Linked DNA regions of Homo sapiens: region 2 is linked to region 1. Evidence: promoter capture Hi-C in 16 types of primary human blood cells and fetal thymus (Javierre and others, 2016). All regions are on one chromosome and are shown on one strand. The core of a region is centred on a gene start or on the middle of the fragment in contact, and the rest is flanking DNA. Distances in the headings are between cores, read along the strand shown. Region 1 holds the start of GAD1 (glutamate decarboxylase 1). Region 2 overlaps CIRSR (corepressor of RBPJ and splicing regulator).

Evidence for each region. Contacts are between HindIII fragments. The CHiCAGO score rates a contact against its expected background, and 5 or more counts as called.
Region 2: a fragment that was not itself captured here is called in contact with the fragment with the promoter of GAD1 in region 1 in 1 of 17 cell types (total B cells); the score reaches 7.1 in total B cells.

Annotation. Positions count from the first base shown.
Region 1 is chr2:170,813,401-170,820,076 of GRCh38, reverse strand. It overlaps GAD1 (glutamate decarboxylase 1), which reads right to left and starts at 3,190. Exons shown (of 17, transcript NM_000817.3): 1 at 3,029-3,190; 2 at 1,404-1,548. The coding sequence starts at 1,485. GAD1-AS1 (GAD1 antisense RNA 1) reads left to right here and starts at 1,426. Exons shown (of 4, transcript NR_197761.1): 1 at 1,426-1,691; 2 at 2,162-2,359; 3 at 3,045-3,223; 4 at 3,592-5,454. RefSeq lists enhancers at 753-1,275, 1,276-1,799, 3,039-3,208 and a silencer at 3,296-3,375. The HindIII fragment of the contact is 11,655 bases long and covers 706-6,676 here.
Region 2 is chr2:174,350,483-174,357,010 of GRCh38, reverse strand. CIRSR (corepressor of RBPJ and splicing regulator) reads left to right here. Exons shown (of 10, transcript NM_004882.4): 8 at 5,286-5,392; 9 at 6,266-6,351. Among named protein-coding and RNA genes, the nearest start is that of SP9, 19 kb to the right of the region's middle. The HindIII fragment of the contact is 2,171 bases long and covers 3,035-5,205 here.

The DNA.
Region 1 (6,676 bases), core at 1,941-4,440:
TCCTCCCGCCCTGCCCTGGCCAGCTCCAACGCCGGTGCCTGGTTCATATGCTACCAGGGCTGGCGACTCTCCCGAGGCCCTCTTTGTTGTGTGGGTAATTGTATCCCTCCTGGGTGGCGGGAAGAGGGAGCTGCAAAGGAAATTGGAATGAGACCTGAGGACTTAACACGAGACCTCCTGCCCGGGAGCCAATGCCAGCGTCTAAAGGGGCTTTCCGGTAATAATCCCCACTTCATTGATGAGGATACTTATTTTCTCAAATATAAAGTGCCATAAAAGCGCATCAATAAGCACTCCCTGTAACCACACTATCCTTCTTAAGCCCTTTCTGTATACAAATTCTGGAAATTCATACAATTAATTACATCTCAGAAATAAATAAATGGGGGAGTGGGAACACTTACAGTCTGAAGCTGATAAGTTTTTTTAGGGGGGTGGGGTCAGGAGACACTTCTTCACTCCAACAAGGAAAAAGAAAAACAATTTTCTCATCTCAAGCCTTTACAGAGGTAGGAAATAAAATTAAAGATAGATTCTGGAAATGGGTTGAGGAGCCTGTCGCACTTAAGACAGGGAAGCATAAATCCTCCCCCCTCTTTTATCTGGTGTCTCTTTTCTTTCTCTCTTTTCGGGACATGTCACCTCCTGACAGATCTCTTGCCTGGGATAAGGAGAGAGGTGCTCTCTCCTCTCTATGATAAAGCTTCTTGCCCCCTCCCAGTTCCCCATCTCTTGCCACTCAGGATGCCGCCCGCTCCCCTATTTATTTATTTATTTATTTATTTCTCTGAGATGTAATTAATTGTATGAAATGTCAAGGCTCAGTCTCAGTTTTATGCACCTTTCCCGCCCCTGACTTCTCCCTAACTCGTCAATAGCTTGATGCAAATTTGGAGCAATTAGGGACCTTGAGTTTTCTAAAAGCTGCAATTAACGTCGAAATTTCCGCTGATTATAGACTTTGAACACAGCCCAGGGGGAAAGGAGGAGGTCAGATCTTGGCTCAACGAAAGCCGGGGACTGAAAACTCTTATTCCTGCTGGGGCTCCTAGCTCTTCATTCCGCCCCCTGCGCTGACCCCTGTCGTCCCACGGAGCAAAGAAACCACACACAACAGAATAAAAACAACACCCTGGCTGCGCGCCCCTCCTCCTCCGCGAAGCCCTCAACGATCGCCGCTGCTCGGACCTTGCGTGGTCCTCGCTTTCCGGTGCCCTGGGAGTCACCTAGCGTCCCTGACAGCCGAATGACCTCTGGCAGGGACGGGGTCAGAGCCCCATTTATTTCCCAGCCTCCATTATCTCCGCGCTCCCCCTTCCCTTTCCGCCAGCTCAGCCTCCCGACGTCCCAGCGCCCCCATCTTCCCTGCAGTTCATTTGATAGAAAATTGGGGCGGGACCTACTTGTGGGGCGCAGGTTAGTGGTATTGGGGTCCGCTCCCGCGTTCGAGGAGGTTGCGGACGAAGATGGGGTCGAAGACGCCATCAGCTCGGTCGTCCCGGGGCCTCTACTGTCCAGAGTCCTCGACTGGTCCGGCGCAGAAACAGGCTGCAAAGAGAAGCGAGAGCTGTGCGGGGAGGACTTCCGGGGTCCTGCACACCGGAGGGACTGAGCAGCCGGGGGCACGGAGGCTCCCCTTGAAGATCCGGCTCTGGAGAGACAAGAGGGAGGAAAGGCAGCGAGCCTGCCTGGTAGGGGTGCGCAGGGGTGGGGGCAGCGGAGGAGACGTGCGCGCTAGCTCCGGTACTGGGGCGCAGGGAGCGTAGCCCTGGGCCGCTCTCGAGTCTGGCGGTGCATCGGCGCGACCTGGAGTGAAGCGCCGAGACGAGGCGGGGTCGGGGTCGGGGTGGGGGTCCAAGGCCAGTACAAGACGCAAGGGTGTGGGGGACTAGGCTAGGAGCACAGGGGAGCGCTCAGTGAGCGATTTTCCAGCCGAGCCGCTACAAGCCCCATTGGGCACTCAGCAGCCGGCGTGTGGGCCAGCGGGGGGAGGGCGCACGGGGCGGGCATGTCTGGTTCGGTGTCTGGTTCCCGTTGTTGTGTCTGGCTAATTCCCTGGAAAGAAAGAGGCTAACTGCTCCGGGGACTAGGGACTTTGGTGAGACAAGGTGAGAGGGGGAAAAAGGCCCATATCTTTACGTTCTCCCTCGGACTTGGCCAGAGAAGAACCACAGTCACCTTGCACTCCAGACAGCCAGAAAGCAGCGAGTCGGAATGTTGCTTGCCTCCCTCTTATCCCAGCCGGTTTTTAGCCATCGCTAAGCCTAGGGCGAGGTTTCGGTCCGGTTTCAGCGTTTCTCCTCTACCTAGCCCCCTGAGGACCCCAGATTTCTCGCGGTACAGATCCAGAGAGGGTGGGGTAAGTAAGCATGGGGAACGTCACCGGGGAAACGAACTTGCGCGCAGCGCGCAGGAGGCGGCGGACAAAGATCTTGCGCGGCGCCCCTGCTCGACTCTCGGCGCTGGCGCGATGGCGCCCGAAGGCCCCGGGACAGAGAGATTGCGGGCTAATCTGGGTAGATCGAGGACCCCACAGAGAAGGGCCCACCGGCCATCGCCTCCACACCCTCCCTCCGACCTCACTCCTAGCCCCGCGCGCGCAGTCGCACAGCAACTCGGGCAGCGGGTCGACTACGGCCCCTGGAAAAGTAACAGGTTACCGTTCCTAGTAGCGCCTTCGGCTGCTGCTGCCCAGGCGCCCTTTGGAGGGACAGGCGCTCGCAGCATGGAAGCTCAAGGGAAAATCGCTCTTGCCCCACTTCAACTAGAGCCTCAGCCTCCGTGCTTCCCCGGGGCGTGAATCCGGAGGGCAGGGATAAGAAGAGTGACGAGGGAGGCGGGGGGGGGGGGGTCCCTGCGCAGCGCACCCGTGGAGAGCAGGGACTAGGGCGGGCAGGAAGCACTCATTTCGGGAGGTTGGGTGGCCGGCGCTGGGATGGGGTTGGTTGAGAAGCCGCGGGAGGAGAGGACCTGGCTGAAAAGCCACGGTTGGGCGCTGGGAAGTCCAGGTGGTCGCTAGCTTACCCACCTCGGCTCTGCGACAGCGAGCCGGGCACTCCCGCCTTTCCTCTGCACAGCGCCCAGCGATCCGCTCGGCTCGGCCCTGACAGGCGTAATCTGCCCGGCGTCACCTCCAGCTGCTTCCTCGTTCTCGCTAGTTCCCTCTCGCACGCGAGCGCCAGGAGAAGAGAGAGATTCGGAGAGGCGGCTGCACGGCTCCGGGGTAGGCGGGGGCAGAGTGGGGAGGCGGGGACCGGATCGGCGGGGAAATCACGAGGCCGTTGCTCGCGGGGGCAGCTAGTCGGCGGAGCGGCGGGGCTCCTCTGCAGGTGCCTGACCGCCTCTGGAGCTTTATAGGGCGATTATAAATCCAGCTCACGGTTTTGCGCCCGGAAGGAAAAAAAAAAGGTCTTATGAGTAATCCAGAACGTACTCAACACGCTTTTTTTTTTTCCTTTGGAAATAGGCAGGCTGTCGGGTGAGAGGAGGGAAAAGATAATTCCTACGAAGAATTCTGCCTTTCTGAGCGTTTCTTCTTCCCTCCCCTCCTTTCCCCTCTCCCATTTCCCCTCCCCCTCCCATATATTGTAGGAGACGAGCGGCGGTTTTGCCTCAGTGCTTTTCCCCGGGGTTCCCCCAGATCTGTGACCCTGCGACGCTTCCTTGAGCGAAAGCGCGCTTTGGGTCGTGTCCTCGTTGGCTCTCTACGGAGCTGGGATTGTTGTAACCGCAAAGGAGGCAGAAATGAGGGGAGACCTCTTAGACCATGGAGGAATTACAGTTTCCTCATCCAGCCCTGGGCCCCATCAAAGTACCACACCTGGCCACAGCTACCCAGTGCCACCGGCAGAGAAAAGGACCCCGCGTCCCTTTTGCTATGCGCTCGCTCCTCGCTTTGGCCCCCTTGGTGATGGGAAAAGAAGGCCTCCTGATTAATCACGTTTGAAGGTTGATGACACGCACGAGCGCCGCTGCACGCGCATGGGGCACCCGAGCACAGAGGTGCCCGGAAGGGGCGGACCAGCCCCCCTTGCCCTGGCCCGCTCCCCCTTCGATTTCACGCGCTTTAAGGATTCTCCCTTTGCAATATTTAGGCGTAGTTAAAAGAACCGCTGCGTTGGGAGAAGCCCCTCGCCGTAAAAATGCGTTGAAAGAGAAATTCCCACCAGAGGGCGCCAAGAGCCCAGAGACGGAGAGGCCCTGCGCTCCCGGGTCTCTCCGCCAGCGCCCGAGCGGAGCCCACACCTGGAGCTGCTGGCCAGACGGTTACGCGCCGGCTTGCCTCTTCATGCCTTCCCTCACCGCCCTGTCACTAGTTTAAGTTCTCCCCTTTCTTCTCCCCCAGTTTTTTTCTTTAGGGCAAAAATGTTGATGTCTGTGCGTGTCTGGGTGACACCGTGTAGGCAGTGATTCCTTTACTGGTATTTACCGTGGTCCTCCCCCTCTCCCCAGGTGGTGCAGCACGCAGGGGTTATTTATGCGCACGTCTGGGGCCTCACTGGTTCAGCGGAGGCCCGTCCGTTTTCTTTGAATGCCTTATCGCCTTTCACCACAACACAATGGAAACACACACAAAAATATTATAAATTACCGAGAGTTCCATAAGGGAGATCGAAGGGTCCGCCCTGGGCAGACATGGCCTGATCAGCAAGAGGGATCTCGCTGTGGGGTTTGAAATAATCGCGTTGCCTTTGGTACTAAAGAAACTACTGTTTTGTCGCCTTGTCTCCACCTGACGATGAAATCCCCGGCACTTTTTAAGGACACAAAAAACATCCTAAACGGCGGGGCGCGCGGTGACTGCAGCCCCGGGCACTGAGGCTTGGGGCTGGACAGGCTGGGGGTGTCTGCTCCACGTAGGAAACGTCCCCCCAAACCACTCAACCGGCAGCTGCTCTGCGCTGCTTGAAGTGGGCGGCATACAACCAGGTGAAGCTCGGAATTCCATCCACCGGCCCTCCTAGAGCCTTCCCTAAACGAGACGCTCGCACCAATCAGGGAGCCAGGTGCCAGTGCTAAATCATTCAAGACGCACGGGGCAGGAGACAGGAAGGAGGAGGCAACACATCTCCCGGTGCCCCTCGTTCTTCATTGTCCAGCATAGACGCCCGCTCGCCTCAACCTTTTCCCAAAACCCGTGATTCCCTGGAAAGGAAGATTCGTTTACTTCACCTGTGGCACGAGATTGAGACATTTCCAACCACTTCCTCCTTTGACCCCAGAGTTCAAAACACCCCTAACGTTTTAGCCAATGAAATAATCTCGTTGGAGAAGGAATCTCCTGCAAGGCTAGGTAACGCAAGCTGAAGCTGAGTCCGTCCAGCTTCGAGGACATCCCTCTCTTTCTCCTTTATGGTGAGTAGGGGAGGAATGAAGACTTTTGTCCGTCCTTGTTTAGAATGTTTAATTGAATATTAGCAGTAATTGATTAAACGAATATTTATTAATCCCCTACTATGTGCCAAGCACTTATTTTTTGGAGCTTGCATTGTCCCTGCGGTTTATATTATCCTGCACGCCGGGAGTGGACATTCCGGTGAGGCAGGGAGAGGAGCGCACTTAGAAACTTCATAAATTTGATTTAATTTTCAATGATCTCCTCCAACTCGAACTCTTGGGCACAGCAGGAATGGTAATGAATTGAAGGCCTGGAATTCCACTCCATCCAGATTACTGAGTTTTGAGGTAGGGCATAGATCTTTCAGCACGAAGGACAGCGCCCGTCCTTCTGGTCCCCATGCCTCTGTTTCGTTTGCTTCCGCCAATAGCTATGGGCCAACCCACCAGACTCGCCCCAGCCCTCCTCCCTCCTGACAGTAACTGCTGTTTGTTTTGCCTAGTTGGGGGGTGAGGTATTTCGCCCACTGCTCTTCTCTCCGGTAGGAATTTGAACTAAGAGTGGCCGTGGTTGTCATTCGGCTCTAAACAACATTTGAAACCTATATTTTTGTTTATGTCTTTCACTCTTCCTTTAATCTTTTATCATTCCTGGGGGAGGATTCTTGGGATAATGGGGGTGGAAAAAAGATATCCTCTCCGGGGACTCGAACCGGTGATGAGGGGTGGCCCGGAAGGGAGTGGTGTCCGCCCAGCTGTTTCGATTGTATTTGAAGCGCTTTGAAGAAATGGGAACGCGGCGCTCAAAGGCAGAAGAAGGAGGGGGCGATATGCGACCCCTCCAGTCTCTCTCCGGCATTAGGGATTTGCGAGCTTGCAGCCCCGGCTACTCCACCCTGTCTGCCGAGGATAACGTTTCCTTAGGTCAACCACCGCTGGGACTTGGGAACACGACCCTCCGCCCACAATGCCCTTTATTCCTTTCCCCGTCGTGGGTGGGTGGGGGATTGTTTAAAGATATTCCAACCGGATTTGGGGCCAAGCCTTTTCTGCAAAGGGAAAAACGGGTGAGTAGGAGGAGCGTGAGGCGTTGAAGGAGCGCCCAAACGGGCTGCGGGGAGATCTTCACGCCTAAAACGTGGTCAGTCAAGGTGAGTAGACAGGACACGTCAATTTTTTTTGACGCAATTAGAATTTTTAGCCTCCAGGAAACGTAATTTAGAGCCATGGTATTGGTTCGTTTCAGCTGGCTCCTTAAAATCTATTTTAAGTGTCTAATTTATGACCAGAAAGGAAAAAAAAAATGGCAGTGCTCACCGGTTAAACGTCTGTCTCCCGA
Region 2 (6,528 bases), core at 2,871-5,370, 3.5 Mb before region 1:
CTATTCGATGACATTTTAAAATTATCAATGTTGAGAAGCATAATAAAGGTATTGAGGTTGAGATTTTATTTAAAATATTCTATGAAAAAAATAAATTTGGAAGTAATAGCTAAGACAAGAATGACAAAATATTGTTAATTGTTGAAGCTATGTGATGTAGGTTTGCAATTTTCCGTAGTATAAAGTTAAATTAAAACACACACACAATGAGAAGGGAAAAAAAATAGATCATCACTGTAATAGGAAGCAAAACTATATTCACTTTAGGGTAGCAATTTAGTTTCAGCCAACAGTGGCATCCTATAAATTAAGTACATAATATATTAAATTTGGGAGAAGGAGAGACAGGCCAGTCAGTCAGTCTGTCCTCTTTCCTTCCCCTTCCCCTTCTTCCTTCCTTCCTTCTTCCCTCCCTCCCTCTTTCTTTCTTTCCTTTCTTTCTCCTTTCTTTCTTCCTTTCCTTCCTTCCTTCCTTCCTTTCTTCTTTCTTTCTTTCTTCCTTCCCTTCTTCCTTCCCGTCTGTCTTTTTTTCTGTCTGTCTTTTGACAGGATCTCACTCTGTTGCTGAGGCCGGAGTGCAGTGGTGAGATCACAGGCTCACTGCACCCTCAACCTCCTGTGTTCAAGTGATCCTCCCACCTCACCCTCTCTAGTAGCTGGGAGTATAGGCATGTGCGCCACCACGGCCAGCTAATTTTTGTATTTTTTGTAGAGACAGGGTCTCACCATGTTGCCCAAGCTGGTCTTGAACTCCTGGACTCAGGCGATCCACCCGCCTCTGCCTCCCAAAGTGCCGGGACTACAGGCATGAGCCACTGCGCCTGGCCAGGAAAGGCATTTCTAATTCAGCCTTACCTAACCTACAACTCACTGCCCCCTTTTCTCCTACTTAATACCATAAAATTGTAGGTGATAATGCATTGTTTGAAAAGAATGATGGGCCAGGTGTGGTGGCTCACACCTGTAATCCCAGCACTTTGGGAGGCCGAGGTGGGTGGATCACGAGGTCAGGAGATCAAGACCATCCTGGCTAAAGAAAAGAATGATGAACTTCGAATGGAGCAGATGGACCTAGTGTTTGCAGTGAAACACAAGTGTCTTTGACTTCAGCTTTAGTCTCCCTCCTATGCCATTTGTGGCATTCCCCTGGGACTGCCATACTATAATTGTGGAGTCAGTTGTATGCCATTTCCTCATAGCCAGAACTTTTGAGTTTATATATTATTCTTTGATAAAATACCTATTTTACAACAGGACATTCTTTTTTTACCTTTCATTGTTTTTGTTCTGTAAAAATGAATACTCTTAGTGAGTAGATTAAGCGCTTTACACACATAATTTTGTATAGCATAATTTACCTTCTAGGAATTTTTTCTTTCCTGAGACTCGATTTCATGGTATTTTTCTAGTAGAGCCTGGGTCTAATCAGAACATGGAACTGTACACAATTGGTATTTTGATACTTATCCATATCACAGCAAAGAAAAGTTTGTAAAATAAATGAATGTTGAAAGCAGTTTCTTCAGTGGACCTGCTTTTCTAAGTGGGAACATTGGTTTTCAATGCTGTGAAGGCTTGGCTGAGATGATCTAGAAAGGAGCCCTCACAAATCTGCATTTTAGAACAAATGCCTTCTTTCTGAATTCTCTAGTATTATTCTACCATGACAAATTTAAGAATAAGCCAAACAATTTTTAAGATCCAACTCCAGCTATAATTGAAATTATTAAGGCACCATACATAAAAGTAGTTATTTTACATTTGAACATATTTGTGTAATCTATTTTATCAACGTATCTGTAATCATCTATTTTATCAACCAAATTTTGAGTTCTCAAAAGATCTGGAGTCATTTCTGTCAGTGTAACTCTACGTAGCCTCTGTCATAATAATGTGAAAGTAGAAAGATACTTGCTAAATATATCTTGATTAAACCTGACTTGTTTCATCTCCTAAACCTAGAACTTTAAACTCAGAACTTTGGTTGATAGGAGAAGGTTTAAGTATAAAAAAAATGTGAATAAGACTGCATTGTGAAAAGTATTACTACTAAGAGCATTTTTTTGTATTATGAAAAGTACCGTAAGATAGTCATGGAATTTGGATAGTGGCCGGGTGCAGTGGCTTACAACTGTAATCCCAGTACTTTGGGAGACCTAGGCAGGTGTATTATTTGAGCTGAGGCATTCAAGACCAGCCTGGGCAACATGGCAAAACCCTGTCTCTACCAAAAAAAAAAATATATATATATATAATATATATACATATGTAAAATATATATTATATAATATATATTATATTATATATAATATATGTATTATATAATATATAAAATATATAATATATATTATATAATATATAAAAATATATAATATATATTATATAATATATAAAATATATAATATAATATATATTATATGATATATATAATATATAATATAATATATAAAATATATATAATATAATATATATTATATAATATATAAAATATATTATATGATATATATAATATAATTTATATAATATAATATATATTATATATATTTTATATATTATATTATATAATATATTATATATATCATATAATATATATTATATATAATATATAAAATATATATGTACATATATAAGTAATATATGTACATATATAATATATCTTATAAAAAGACAATTTCTTATATAAGAAAGTTGAATAGGTACTGGTAAAAATAATAGTTGTTACTCTTTATTAAGTACTATTTGTCGAGCACTTCACTAAGCACTCTATTTACAGTCATACATTGTGAAAGTGTGCTAAATTTATATACTACACAGAGTTTTCAGTTGGGATTTTTGAAAAATATAAATGCTAGAAGAGTAATGATTGTTTAATAGTCTGTATAATCTCTGTAACACTGGGGAAATACATCATTTTCTTGACATAGTTGGAAGTACTGTAAAGAAGGCATGCTTTCTATAACATCTTATTAAAATTACCCATCTTGTGATGAAAACTGATGAAATTAGTATAACCTCTCATCATGATGGCCAAGCTTTGTGACCCTTTATTGGAGTGGTTTTTATTCTAATTATTAACAAGTTTGGTGTCTGAATTCATTCGATATCTAATAAAATTGTTGACAAGGAAATGTAGTTTTGACACTTCAGAAGAGACATTTTCTACTTTATAAAATTAAGTTCCTACATGTGAAATTTGAGAAGCCACCAAAGTAAACATTCTATTATTCATTTAAAGCTCTTAATTGAGCCGGGCGCGGTGGCTCACGGCTGTAATCCCAGCACTTTAGGAGGCTGAGGCTGGCAGATCACGAGGTCAGGAGTTTGAGACCAGCCTGACCAACATGGTGAAACCCCGTTTCTACTACAAATACGAAAATTAGCCAGGCATGGTGGCAGTTGCCTGTAATCCCAGCTACTCCAGAGGCTGAGGCAGGAGAATTGCTTTAACCCAGGTGGCGGAGGTTGCAGTGAGCCGAGATCGTGCCACTGCACTCCAGCCTGGGCAACAGAGCAAGACTCCATCTCACACACACACACACAAAAAGCTCTTAATTGTATGAGCACCTCTATGCCATTTAGAGGCAACCAGTATTAATATTTAAAATTCAATTTTATTTAAGATTGTATTATCAATGTTAACAACCAGACTGAATAATTAAAGGGCCATTAAAGTAATACATAGGAATTAAACATTTTGTATAGAAGAAAAAAATTAAAAACCCTCTTGGTTTAAAATGAAATATTAATATAAGACAGGTGTTTTTGTTTGTTTTTAACTAAATAAGGCTTTTTTTCCTAAAACTATGACATCATTAATAACTTCCCCCATACTCCAATAATAGACAGTTTTTCCCCATCATCTCCCTAGTACCTAGGGCAAACTTACAGTTGTTCTTCGCAATATGAATGGAATGGTAAAGCCTGGAAAGTCCAGTAAAATATATTATCTTATAACTGAGTTTTTCTCACCAAATTTTTAACCACATCTGCTATTGACAGGTAAACAAATTTGAACTGATTGCCTTTTGCTTTCCATGATAATATGCAGGTGAGTGCGCAAATAAGTGGTAAAAGACCAACAAAGCAGTAAAAAGAAATAGACAAAGTATTCAACCAGCAAACTAAAGAACTCATTTCTGAATATTTTTCTATCCCCCTACCCTCCCGTATGAACTCCTTTTTGGCAGTAACTGTCTCATTCTTCCCTAAGTGACAGACACATCAGCTGGAGTACGTCATTTAAGCCAGTGTAGGTGATTTAGGCTGGCAACTTTAAATAGCTGCCATGAAATGTTGTCATTAGTTTGCTATCTGCAGGGAAAACAAAATGAAACAGGAATATACAAAATGAGATAAGAGTCTCTCTTACCTTACATAAACCTTATGTTTGAGGGCAGGGGGCAAACCTTTAAAAAAAAATTATTTATTTATTTAGAGACATGGTTTTGCCATGTTGGCCAAGTTGGCCTCCTGGGCTCAAGTGATCCTCCCGCCTCTGCCTCTCAAAATGCTGGGATTACACGCATGAGTCACCACTCCCAGCTGAAAATTTTTAAAATTTATTGTTAGTTCATATTTGGGAAACAAAAAGCTCACTTTTCAGTCTGAGATTTTGCAAAAGTGGAAGTGTAGTGTAAAAAAATATAAAACATACATACCAATAGCCAGCCTAAAACTGCTTGTTAGCAACCCAAGCTAGTAATTAAAAATTTTGAAATCTGGGAATAAAAGCAAGATTAATTAAAGTACTTGGTGGTTACCCATAGGTGTGTGTGTGTGTGTATGTGTGTGTGTGTGTGTGTGTGATTAGCAACCACTTGGCAATGTATTCAGTATTGTTATTTGACAAATAAGGATGAGGAATTTTGAATTGGAAATAAGGATGATAAATTCCTCATGTACCTTTAAAAATACATCTTTTAAATGAACTCTTACTGAGAGAATAACTACTAAAAGTTTAATTGTAGTTTTTTATTATAATATTTTGCTTTGATTTTATACTAAAAACTGCCAACCAGATAACATCTAAATGTATCTTTTTCAATATGACAAAGTTACATAAGAAGACTCCCCTTGCACGTAAAGAAAAATGCAATTATTTTCTATTCTGAATCTCCAGACTGCTGTTTTAGAAAATCATATCTGATTATTTGCTCAGCAGAAGATTATTGAGTTGATTTAGCTGTGATTTTACTTAACAAAGCTTCAACTGCATTCCTACTGTGGAGTCCGAAAAAGGTAGAGAGATATAAATGATACATTCAAACTGTGATTTTTGTGAACAGGGCCATCGATGCACCCCTCGGAGCTAATAGCGGAGATGAGAAACAGTGGGTTTGCACTGAAACGAAATGTACTGGGGAGAAACTTGACCGCAAATGATCCATCACAGGTAATGATCTTTTTATCAGTAAGCTGAAAATGTCTATAAATCTAAATGTGATTGCTTGTGAATTGCTACTTAATGTTTTCCAATATGCATATATCCATAGGAAAGTAAGATAGAGCAAAGAAAATGCCCAAAATGTGTTTTGATTTTGCTTTATTATTTTAATCTAAATGAGAAATTGTTTATAAACCTGTATTTTAATAAATGAAACTGCTCCTCTGAGTTTATGTGGATAAAATATCTAACTGAACTGGTGATGAGGTTGTTGGTTTTTCCTTCCTGCTAACTTACCCCTGATATGACATTAAATAGAACCAATGGTTAGAAGTATGTAAAAACTCCTAAAAATTGTAGAAAATATTTTAAACTTATTTATTTTATTAAACTATACATAGATCCAGAAAATGATTGAGTTTGAAGGGCTATATTATTATATATTTGATAATGTGCTGTTGAAATTATAATAAAAGCTAAAATTGTGGATATTTTGACATTCCTGTAAAACTCATAATCTTCTTTTTTATATTTCATTAAATTAAAAATAAAGTATTTAAACTGGCAAGAGTTAACATTCAAGAGATAGAGAATGGAAGTCATGCTCTAAACATTTTATCTGTGTGTGTCTATCATCCTTTTCCTGGAAAAGTTTCCTAATGCTGGCAAAGCAGTCATGTTAACCTCTTAGTGCTGTATGATCCACTTCGGCAGGGAGACTACAAAAAAATTTTTTAATTCTCTCCCACTTCCCAATCCAAAATATCATATTCATCTACAGTGTGTCCCTGATACAAAACTTATTTATAAATGTTTTCTTTTTTATCTACTAACTACCTTGTGTTGAAATCTAGCAATTTAATGATATCTTTGTTGACTCAGGAGTATGTTGCAAGTGAGGGTGAAGAAGATCCAGAAGTTGAATTTTTAAAGTCACTAACAACCAAACAAAAACAGAAACTTCTCAGGTAATTTAGAAGTATATATTTAATAGATTTATTTTTTCCTTAGTATTCATCTCAGTATCGTATTCAACTCTGATCCTAAGAGCTCATGAAGGTCCTTATACCATGCATCACATTTATTGATTATTCTTCACCCATAGCTAATACAATTTTGTCTGTCTTTTCAGTAACATGGAAATG